Regions from separate parts of the Homo sapiens genome. Here region 1 is linked to region 2. The links are contacts of gene promoters, found by promoter capture Hi-C in blood cells and fetal thymus (Javierre and others, 2016). All regions are on one chromosome and are shown on one strand. The core of a region is centred on a gene start or on the middle of the fragment in contact, and the rest is flanking DNA. Distances in the headings are between cores, read along the strand shown.

What was found. The method cuts DNA at HindIII sites, captures the fragments that hold promoters and counts their contacts. A CHiCAGO score of 5 or more calls a contact.
Region 1: a contact is called between the fragment with the promoter of OR10G2 here and a fragment that was not itself captured in region 2, in 1 of 17 cell types (total CD8 T cells). The highest score is 5.9, in total CD8 T cells.

What each region holds. Positions count from the first base shown.
Region 1 is chr14:21,632,814-21,637,262 of GRCh38, forward strand. It overlaps OR10G2 (olfactory receptor family 10 subfamily G member 2), which reads right to left and starts at 2,127. Exons shown (of 1, transcript NM_001005466.2): 1 at 1,023-2,127. The coding sequence starts at 2,029. The coding sequence ends at 1,097. It also overlaps TRA. The HindIII fragment of the contact is 5,968 bases long and covers 1-2,589 here.
Region 2 is chr14:22,578,526-22,582,748 of GRCh38, forward strand. The region is part of intron 1 of DAD1 (defender against cell death 1); the gene reads right to left. Among named protein-coding and RNA genes, the nearest start is that of DAD1, 8.6 kb to the right of the region's middle. RefSeq lists a silencer at 1,732-1,894 and an enhancer at 3,770-4,223. The HindIII fragment of the contact is 495 bases long and covers 2,283-2,777 here.

The DNA.
Region 1 (4,449 bases), core at 877-3,376, 950 kb before region 2:
TGATCTGCCCACCTCGGCCTCTCAAAGTGCTGGGATTACAGGCGTGAGCCACTGCGCCCGGTAGGAGATAAATTCTTGACTGTAATACGTGACAGACTGGGGCAAGGTCTATACTAAAGAAGCCATGGCAATACCAGGGAAGAGGAGTTAAGTCCTGCCTGGGAAAAACAGATGAGGAAGTATTTAATATGGATCTGAAGGAAGCATAAATTGTCACTTGGTCAATATGGAGAGGGAGGACTTATATTCCAGGCAGAGAAGAGAGCTTGAGCAAAAGAGTACAGGCAAGTATAGAGCATGCTCACGGAACGGCAATAAATCAGTGAGGGTGGGAGAGGGAAGCAGAGGAAATGGCTTAAGAGAACATGTATGTGAAGCCAAGATTGCATTGGATTTTGAATTCCAGATTAAGGAGCCTGGCCTTATTCATTCTACCTTCGCCGAAGAGTCCTACAGATTCTGTGTTTCAGAGGGTAATTTTGATTGTGGTCTAGATGAGGAAGAACTAGTCAAGAATTAAGAGAGACAGTCTACACTGAATCAGTTTGAGCTGGTTTCATAGTTTTGAGGAGACAGAATCTGATGTGTTAGCACATCACGAGGGCGAGGGACAGGAAGAAAACACAAATAATCCAGAATTTTCAAGTTCAAGTGCTTGGAAATATTCATGCCATGCACAAGCAAAGAAATGGAATTTAGAGGGGTCTAGGATTAGGAGCAAAGACAATGAAACAAGGGGTTATGGAGCCCCCTTTTTACTCTTTTCAAATTTTCTGGCATGATATACTTTCTAAGACATTGACACATTCTCATCTTATTCAACCTTTGGTAAGGCATTTTCTCATCTCACAAGATAGAGGTGATAGAAATAATGTATCCATTTATTTCTAAAAGATTATGTAAAACAACCTGAACCAGTTTAATTAGGGGAAAAGATTTTGGGTCGAAATAATTCAGAATTTTCTGCCAAAGAAAATGAAAATAAATTCACTTTAAATCCTTAGCAGTTTATTGGGCATTTGTCACATGCAGCAGTAGCTGAAGAGAGTGGCAGTGATAATGATGCAGATGTAGTTACTTATTTTCATTCAGTCCTTCAACCTGCTGTTATCCTCTTCAGGGCAGACTTCACTTCCTGGTTCCTCAGTGTATAGATGAGGGGGTTCAGTAATGGAGTGACAACAGTGTAAAACACAGCCGCTGCCCCATCCAGGGGGTCTTTGGAGCCAGCCCTAAGGTAGATGAAAATACAGGGGACATAGTAGACTGTGACCACGATTAGGTGGGAGCCACAGGTGGAGAAGGCCCGGCGCCTCCCATCAGTGGTGCGTATCTTCAGGATGGCATTTACTATGTTGGCATACGAGAGCAGAATTAACATGAAGCAACTGGCGGCCACTACCCCGACGTCCACAAAGGTCACAAGCTCATTGACAGTTGTGTCAGCACAGGCCAGTCTCAATACTGCGGGGATGTCACAGATAAAGTAATCCACCTGATTGGGCCCACAGTAGGGCAGGCGGAAGGTCAAGGTGGCCTGGATAGACCCATGCATGGAGCCGGCGACCCAAGCTCCAGCCACAAGGACTGTGCATAACCTCCCATTCATGAGCACTGGGTAGCGCAGGGGCTGACATATTGCCAGGTACCTGTCATAGGCCATCAAGGTGTAGAGGAAGCACTGGGTGCTGCCCAGGAAGTGAAAGAAATACAGTTGAGCCACACAGCCACCAAACGGGATAGCCTTGATGGAAGGAGTAAAATCCAAAATAAGCAGAGGAACGGTGACTGAGGAGAGCCACATGTCCAGGAATGAGAGCACTCCCAGAAGAATGTACATGGGGCGAGCACAGAGCTTCGGGTCAGCCCACATGGTGAGCAGAATGAGCAGGTTCCCCAGCTGAGTGAGGATGTAAATGATGAAGAAGACCAGGAAGAGGAGGCTTCTTAGATTTGGGGGGTGAGACAAACCCAGAAGAATGAAATCTGTCACCACGGCATCCAGCGATGTGTTTTTGGTCTTTCCCATGTCTTTTTGTAGTCTGCTAAGATGAATGGTGACGTTTGACAAGAGAAACACAGCACAATGATGTTGTAAGTGAATGCTTTTGTCGGATGATTGATGCCTAGGAATTATGAGATAAACAAGATAGAGTCAAATTGTTTTTTAAAAGAGGAGGTGGTGTCACCATTAGTTATTTAGGTTTACTTAAAAGGAGAAGTCCTCCAGAGGCTGGTTAGTTTCCTAGATGGGAGGAAACTCTTGTCCATTGAGAGATACTGAAAGCCAGGATTTGCCAGATGAAGGAAGAGGGACACATGAGAGTGATAGAGAAGTACCGAAAATTCCAACCAAAAAGTGAGTTCGCCAAGGAGGGGCTAAAGTTGATGCAGAGCAGTGTGGAACAAACACCCTATAATGACCACATCTACTTTTTCTTCACCTACTATCATTGTCCCCTTTTTCCTCAGCTAAAATCTCATCTCCTTAACATATCATGCAAAAATATTCCTCATCTGGCCCTTATTTATATCGCTATTGTACCACTTGTAATTCCTTCTTATTGTTGGGAGGCATGACACTCTTCAAGCTTCTCACAGTAGTGTGCTCTAACTTGGGACTTACGCACACACTATCTTTTCTGCTCCCTTCACATAGGTAGTGCCCACTTTTCCTTCAGGATTCAGTTTGAGTGTCTTCACCTTCAAGAAGGCTTTCCGGATCCCTGAGGACAATGCTTATACTTTTCTGAGCACGTACATTATGTTGCATTGTCTAATTTCTGTTTTTCTCTCTTAATAATCATCCCGTCTAGCATGCTAAAAGTGATAAATACCGTAATTATTTTCTGAATGACTGAGATAGATAGAATGGATGTTGCCAAATCCCCCTGACTGAATACATTGTTTCTCTTGATCTTTTTTGTCTGACCCCTGTGCTCACATGGCTGGGACTTTTAGGTCAAGGGACCACCTCATTCACCATGTAATATGGGTATAATTTCATTATAAAAAACTCCAAGAAACATTTATGCCTGTTTTTGCTCCAGGATATCATTTAGATTTATTTGTTGATTTATATGGTTCATTGGTTTGGGATTGGGTTTTTTTTTTGGTATGAGGTCACAGAGGAATTTTTATTGTTTGTTATAAAATCATTGATTAATGCAGGACTTGATCTTTAGTGTGCTTGTGTGTAATATCTATGTATTGCAGTCTATCAAACAGCAACTCTCTCTAAAGACATTTACAGATTTTCAAGTATCTGAACAAGATGATAAAATAGAGGGATGGAATGTGTTTGTTTCACTCTTTTTGTTAAATAGGTTGCTTGATAAAGACTTTTCGCTCTATATATGGTTTGAGATGCATTTATCTTTCATTTAACTACAAAATATCTTTGTAATGCAAATGACTACTTTCATAAAGCAATTAAAATGACAATAGATTATTATAAATAACATGTGAATATTAATAAGTTTAATCTCTATCGGAAATTCTCCAAAGAGATTTTATCTTAAGTATTCTGTGAAATAACTTAATTCATATGTTAACATTCAAGAGTTATTAGTAGTAATAATAATAATACTGAATATATCTGGCTCTTCGAAGTCTGGAAAATGTTAAACTTGTCCTTTGCCCACCAAGAACGAAGAAATATCAGATTTTTATTGCCTGAGTTTCAGGAGGACACTTTGATTTATTTGAAAATGGATGGGAAAACTAAATCTTATTTTTGTGGTTAGAATATAGAGAAAAGAGGCTGGGCGTGGTGGCTCACGTCTGTAATCCCAGCACTTTGGGAGGCCGAGGCAGGCAGATCATGAGGTCAAGAGATGGAGACCACCCTGACCAACATGGTGAAACCCTGTCTCTACTAAAAATACAAAAAAATTAGCTGGGTGTGGTGTCGGGCGCCTGTAGTCCCAGCTACTCGGGAGGCTGAGGCAGGAGAATCTCTTGAACCCGGGAGGCGGAAGTTGCAGTGAGTGGAGATCGCACCACTGCACTCCAGCCTGGTGACAGAGAGAGACTCTGTCTCAAAAAGAAAAAAAAAAAATGAATATAGAGCAAAGATAGAAAGAGTTGAGATTAAAATGGTGCATAAAATACTAATTATGGCCAGGCGCGGTGGCTCATGCCTGTAATCCCAGCACTTTGGGAGGCCAAGGTGGGTGGATCACGAGGTCAGGAGATTGAGACCATCCTGGCTAACACGGTGAAACCCCGTCTCTACTAAAAATACAAAAATTAGCTGGGTGTGGTGGTGGGCGCCTGTAGTCCCAGCTACTCGGGATGCTGAGGCAGGAGAATGGCGTGAACCCGGGAGGCGGAGGTTGCAGTGAGCCAAGATTGCGCCACTGCACTCCAGCCTGGGTCACAGAGCGAGACTCCATCTCTTAAAAAAATATATATACATATACATATATATATATATATATACTTATT
Region 2 (4,223 bases), core at 1,280-3,779:
CACTGCACTCCAGCCTGGGCAAGAGAGACTCCGTCTCAAAACAAAACAAAACAAAAAAGTATATGCTATATGATTCCATGTACAAAAAGCTTAAAACTTGGTAAAACCAATCTATGGCAAGATAGTGGTTTTTATCTTTCACAGGGAGAGGATAACTGGGAAGATGCAAGGAGGCATCTATGGTGCTGGTAATGTCCTGCATCTTGATCTGGATAGTGGTTAGACAGGTACATTTAAAAATTTATCAAGTTGTACAATTAAATTTCGCACTCTGTTAAAGGAAAAAAAATATTACTTCTCAGAGTTACACTGAAACCTAGAGGCTTTCTCAAAGAAAAAAATATATAACCAAAAAACCCACAAAGCTCTCTTATCTGCTGATTTAAAGGTTTCTAATTATACCTAGATGGGGATGCACTTGAGGCAACAACAAAGGGTCCGGGCTGAATGATAAAAAGTTATAAAAATGTGAATTATTTTCTAATAGAATATTCATTTAATGGGTAGCAGAGTTTATAAAGATAGCACGCTCATTCTTGAGAACCTCACAGTTCTCGATAAACTATCTTTGATCTCGAAGTTCTAGCAGCTGCTTATTTGTCTCAAAAAAGGCAGAAGACCTAAGAGAGATAACTCATGAGAACTCTCCACTGCCACACTCCATCCCCTTGAAGATTCTAACAGTCACCATTGACAAAAAAAAAAAAACAGGCAGTTCCAGGAATACACTCTTCCGAAGTATCTTTATGCCTGTGATAAATTATTACATTGCTTAAGAAAACCTAAACTCGCTTCAGGCTAGCATCATCCCATCATTAACTAAGAAAAAGCAACAAACAAATCTAATCCAAAGGCCAGAAAACTATCAGACTAGTTCTCCAGAGCCTGTCACCATGGCAACAGTTTTCATTATGCTTAAACATGTAAACACCATGGAAGCACCATTGATCCTTTCAGGTATCCAGACCCTTAAAAATATTAAAGACAATGACTGAAGCAAGGGTAACCAGTGTAAACCCCTGCTGTAGAAAGTACAGATTCATTCATCCACTTGGGAGAGCAACTAGCAATATCCATTAATATTTAAAATGATTTTACCTTTTGACAAAGGAATTTATCTTACAGAACAAAGACATTCTGAAAGTATGTTTGTAAAGTTGAAAAAAAAATTAAAACAGTCTAAACATCAAGGGGATTAAACTATACAACTGACATGCAATGAAATCCCATGCAATTATTCAAAAGAATAAGGTAAATTCTCTGTACATTGACAGCAAACATATCTAAGACTTATTAAGTGAAAAAAAGCCAATCCTTTTTTTTTTTTTTTTTGAGACAGGGTCTCACTCCATCACCCAGGCTGGAGTGCAGTGGTGCAATCATGGCTCCCTGCAGCCTCGACCTCCTGGGCTCAAACAATCCTCCCACCTCAGCCCCCTGAGTAGCTGAGACAACAGTCATGCACCACCATGCCTAGCTAATTTTTTTGTTTGTTTTTGGTAAAGACAAGGTCTCCCTATGTTGCCCAGCAATCCTCCCGCCTCTGCTTGCCTAAGGGTAGGGATTACAGACATGAGCCCCCACACCCAGCCCATTCCTAATTTCACTTGGCCAGGGCATGGTGGCTCACAACTGTAACCCCAGCATGTTGTGAAACCAAGGTGGGAGGATCGCTTGAGCCCAAGAGCTTGAGACCAGCCTGGGAAAGATAGGGAGACCCTGTCTCTACAAAAAAAATGTTTTAATTAGCCAGGTGTGGTAGCACACACCTATGGCCCCAGCTACTCGGGAGGCTGAGATGGGAAGATTGCTTGAGCCCAGGAGGTAGAGGTTGCAGGCTGCAGTGAGCCACAGTCATGCCACCGCACTCTGGCCTGGGAGACAAATCAAGACCGTCTCAAAAAAAAAGTAAAATATTTTATTTACATATAATGATATACATAATTATCTTGTCATTTCAGTTAGAATCTAGAAAAAAATCTGAAGAAATAGAAAACTATTAATAGTGGTCATTGGAGTAAAGAACACGGTGTTGAGTTTTGAGGAAATATGAGGGAAAAAAAGAAAAATTATCCATGAAGGTGGATAAGGTAATAAATTGATGTTATTATTATTGTGATCATGGTAACCAGATTATTTCAATGAAAACATATGAATCAGAGTCCCACAAAGTTGGAAAGGACCTCAGAGGTCATAAACACCAACACCCCATTTGATGTATACAATGCCCAAGAGGTGGTAGGGGGTGGCCATGCTTGGGGAGGCGTACTAATCACGTGGGAAGCTTTCCAAAGTATACTCACCACTTACAGAATCTGGTAAGCCACCTCCAGATGGAGAATTATCAACTTTCCAGAGCCTGTGTTACTGATAAGGATATCACATCTCTCAGATGCATTGGAAACAAAAAAGGCAAAAAAAAAAGCCTGTTCAAAATGCTCCACTACCAATGATCCTTCAGTCTCTCCCTGGGCACTTCCAAAGATGGAAATTTACTACCTCTTCAAGCAGTCTGTTCCATTTTAGCAATTCTGATTTACTCTATCCCCTTAAATGTCCATTTATTCCATAAAATATTTACTAAACATCTACTACATGACAAGCATCATTTCAGGTGCTAGGAATATGGCACAGAACAAAACAGTCTGGCTCTCAAGGAACTTACACTCCTATGGAGAGAAACATATAATCAATAAGTTAACAAATAAACCAGGAACTACTAGGTAGAGATATGTACTATGAAGAAAATAAAACAGGATAATAAAGAGTGACTGGGAAGCTTTTCTTAAATTCAATCATAACAGAAGGTCTCTTTAAGAGCTTGCTATTTAAGACCAATATTTGAAAGATAAGGAACCAACCATGTAAAAATCTGGGGGCAGAGCATTCTAGACAGTAAGAACAATCTTGACATGTTATAAACACAAGGACAGACGCCAGGCATGGTGGCTCACACCCGTAATCCCAGCACTTTGGGAGGTCGAGGCGGGTGGATAACCTGAGGTCGGGAGTTCGAGACCAGCCTGACCAACATGGAGAAACCCCGTCTCTACTAAAAATACAAAAAATTAGCCAGGCTTGGTGGTGCATGCCTGCAATCCCAGCTACTCAGGAGGCTGAGGCAGAAGAACCGCTTGAACCCGGGAGGCGGAAGTTGCAGTAAGCCGAGATCGTGCCATTGCACTCCAGCCTGGGCAACAAGAGCAAAACTCCATCTCAAAAAAAAAAAAAAAAAAAAAAAAAATCAAGGACAGACCAACAAGACTATAGTGATCAAGGGGAAGGACACAAGGGCCAAATCCTGAGGGGCATGGTAAGCCTCAGAAAACAGTACGGATTCAGTTATAAGAGCGGTGGAACAGTATAATGGTTCGCAAGGTTAAAAAGAGGCAGAAGGCCGGGCGCAGTGGCTCACGCCTGTAATCCCAGCACTTTGGGAGGCCGAGGTGGGTGGATCACAAGGTCAGGAATTCAAGACCAGCCTGGTCAAGAAGGTGAAACCCCATCTCTACTAAAAATAAAATACAAAAAATTAGCCGGGTGCAGTGGCAGGCTCCTGGAATCCCAGCTACTAGGGAGGCTGAGGCAGAAGAATCGCTTGAACTCCAAGGGCGGAGGTTGCAGTGAGCTGAGATCGCGCCACTGCACTCCAGCCTGGCGACACAGTGAGACTGCGTCTCAAAAAAATAAAAATAAAAATAAAAATAGGCCAGGCGCAGTGGCTCACACCTGTAATCCCAGCACTTTGGGAAGCCAAGGCGGGCGGATCACAAGGTCAGGAGATCGAGACCATCCTGGCTAACATGGTGAGACCCATCTCCACTAAAAAATACAAAAAAAAAAAAAAAATTAGCCGGTCATTGTGGCGGGTGCCTGTAGTCCCAGCTACTCGGGAGGCTGAGGCAGGAGAATGGCGTGAACCCGGGAGGCGGAGCTTGCAGTGAGCCGAAATCGCGCCACTGCACTCCAGCCTGGGCAACAGAGCGAGACTCCGTCTCAAAAATATAAAAAATAAAAAGAAGCAGAAGAATTACTTAGGACCCAAAGAGCTCAGGGGAATGGTAGTAAAAATGGACAGAAATAAAGACATACAGGCTATATTTTGGAGAAGACAGAGCTTGCTGATGAAACAGATGCAGGAGATAAGAGAAATCAAGGGACCCCGGAAACTTAAATTTCTTCATTTAAAAACACAACCGGCCGGGCATGGCGGCTCACACCTG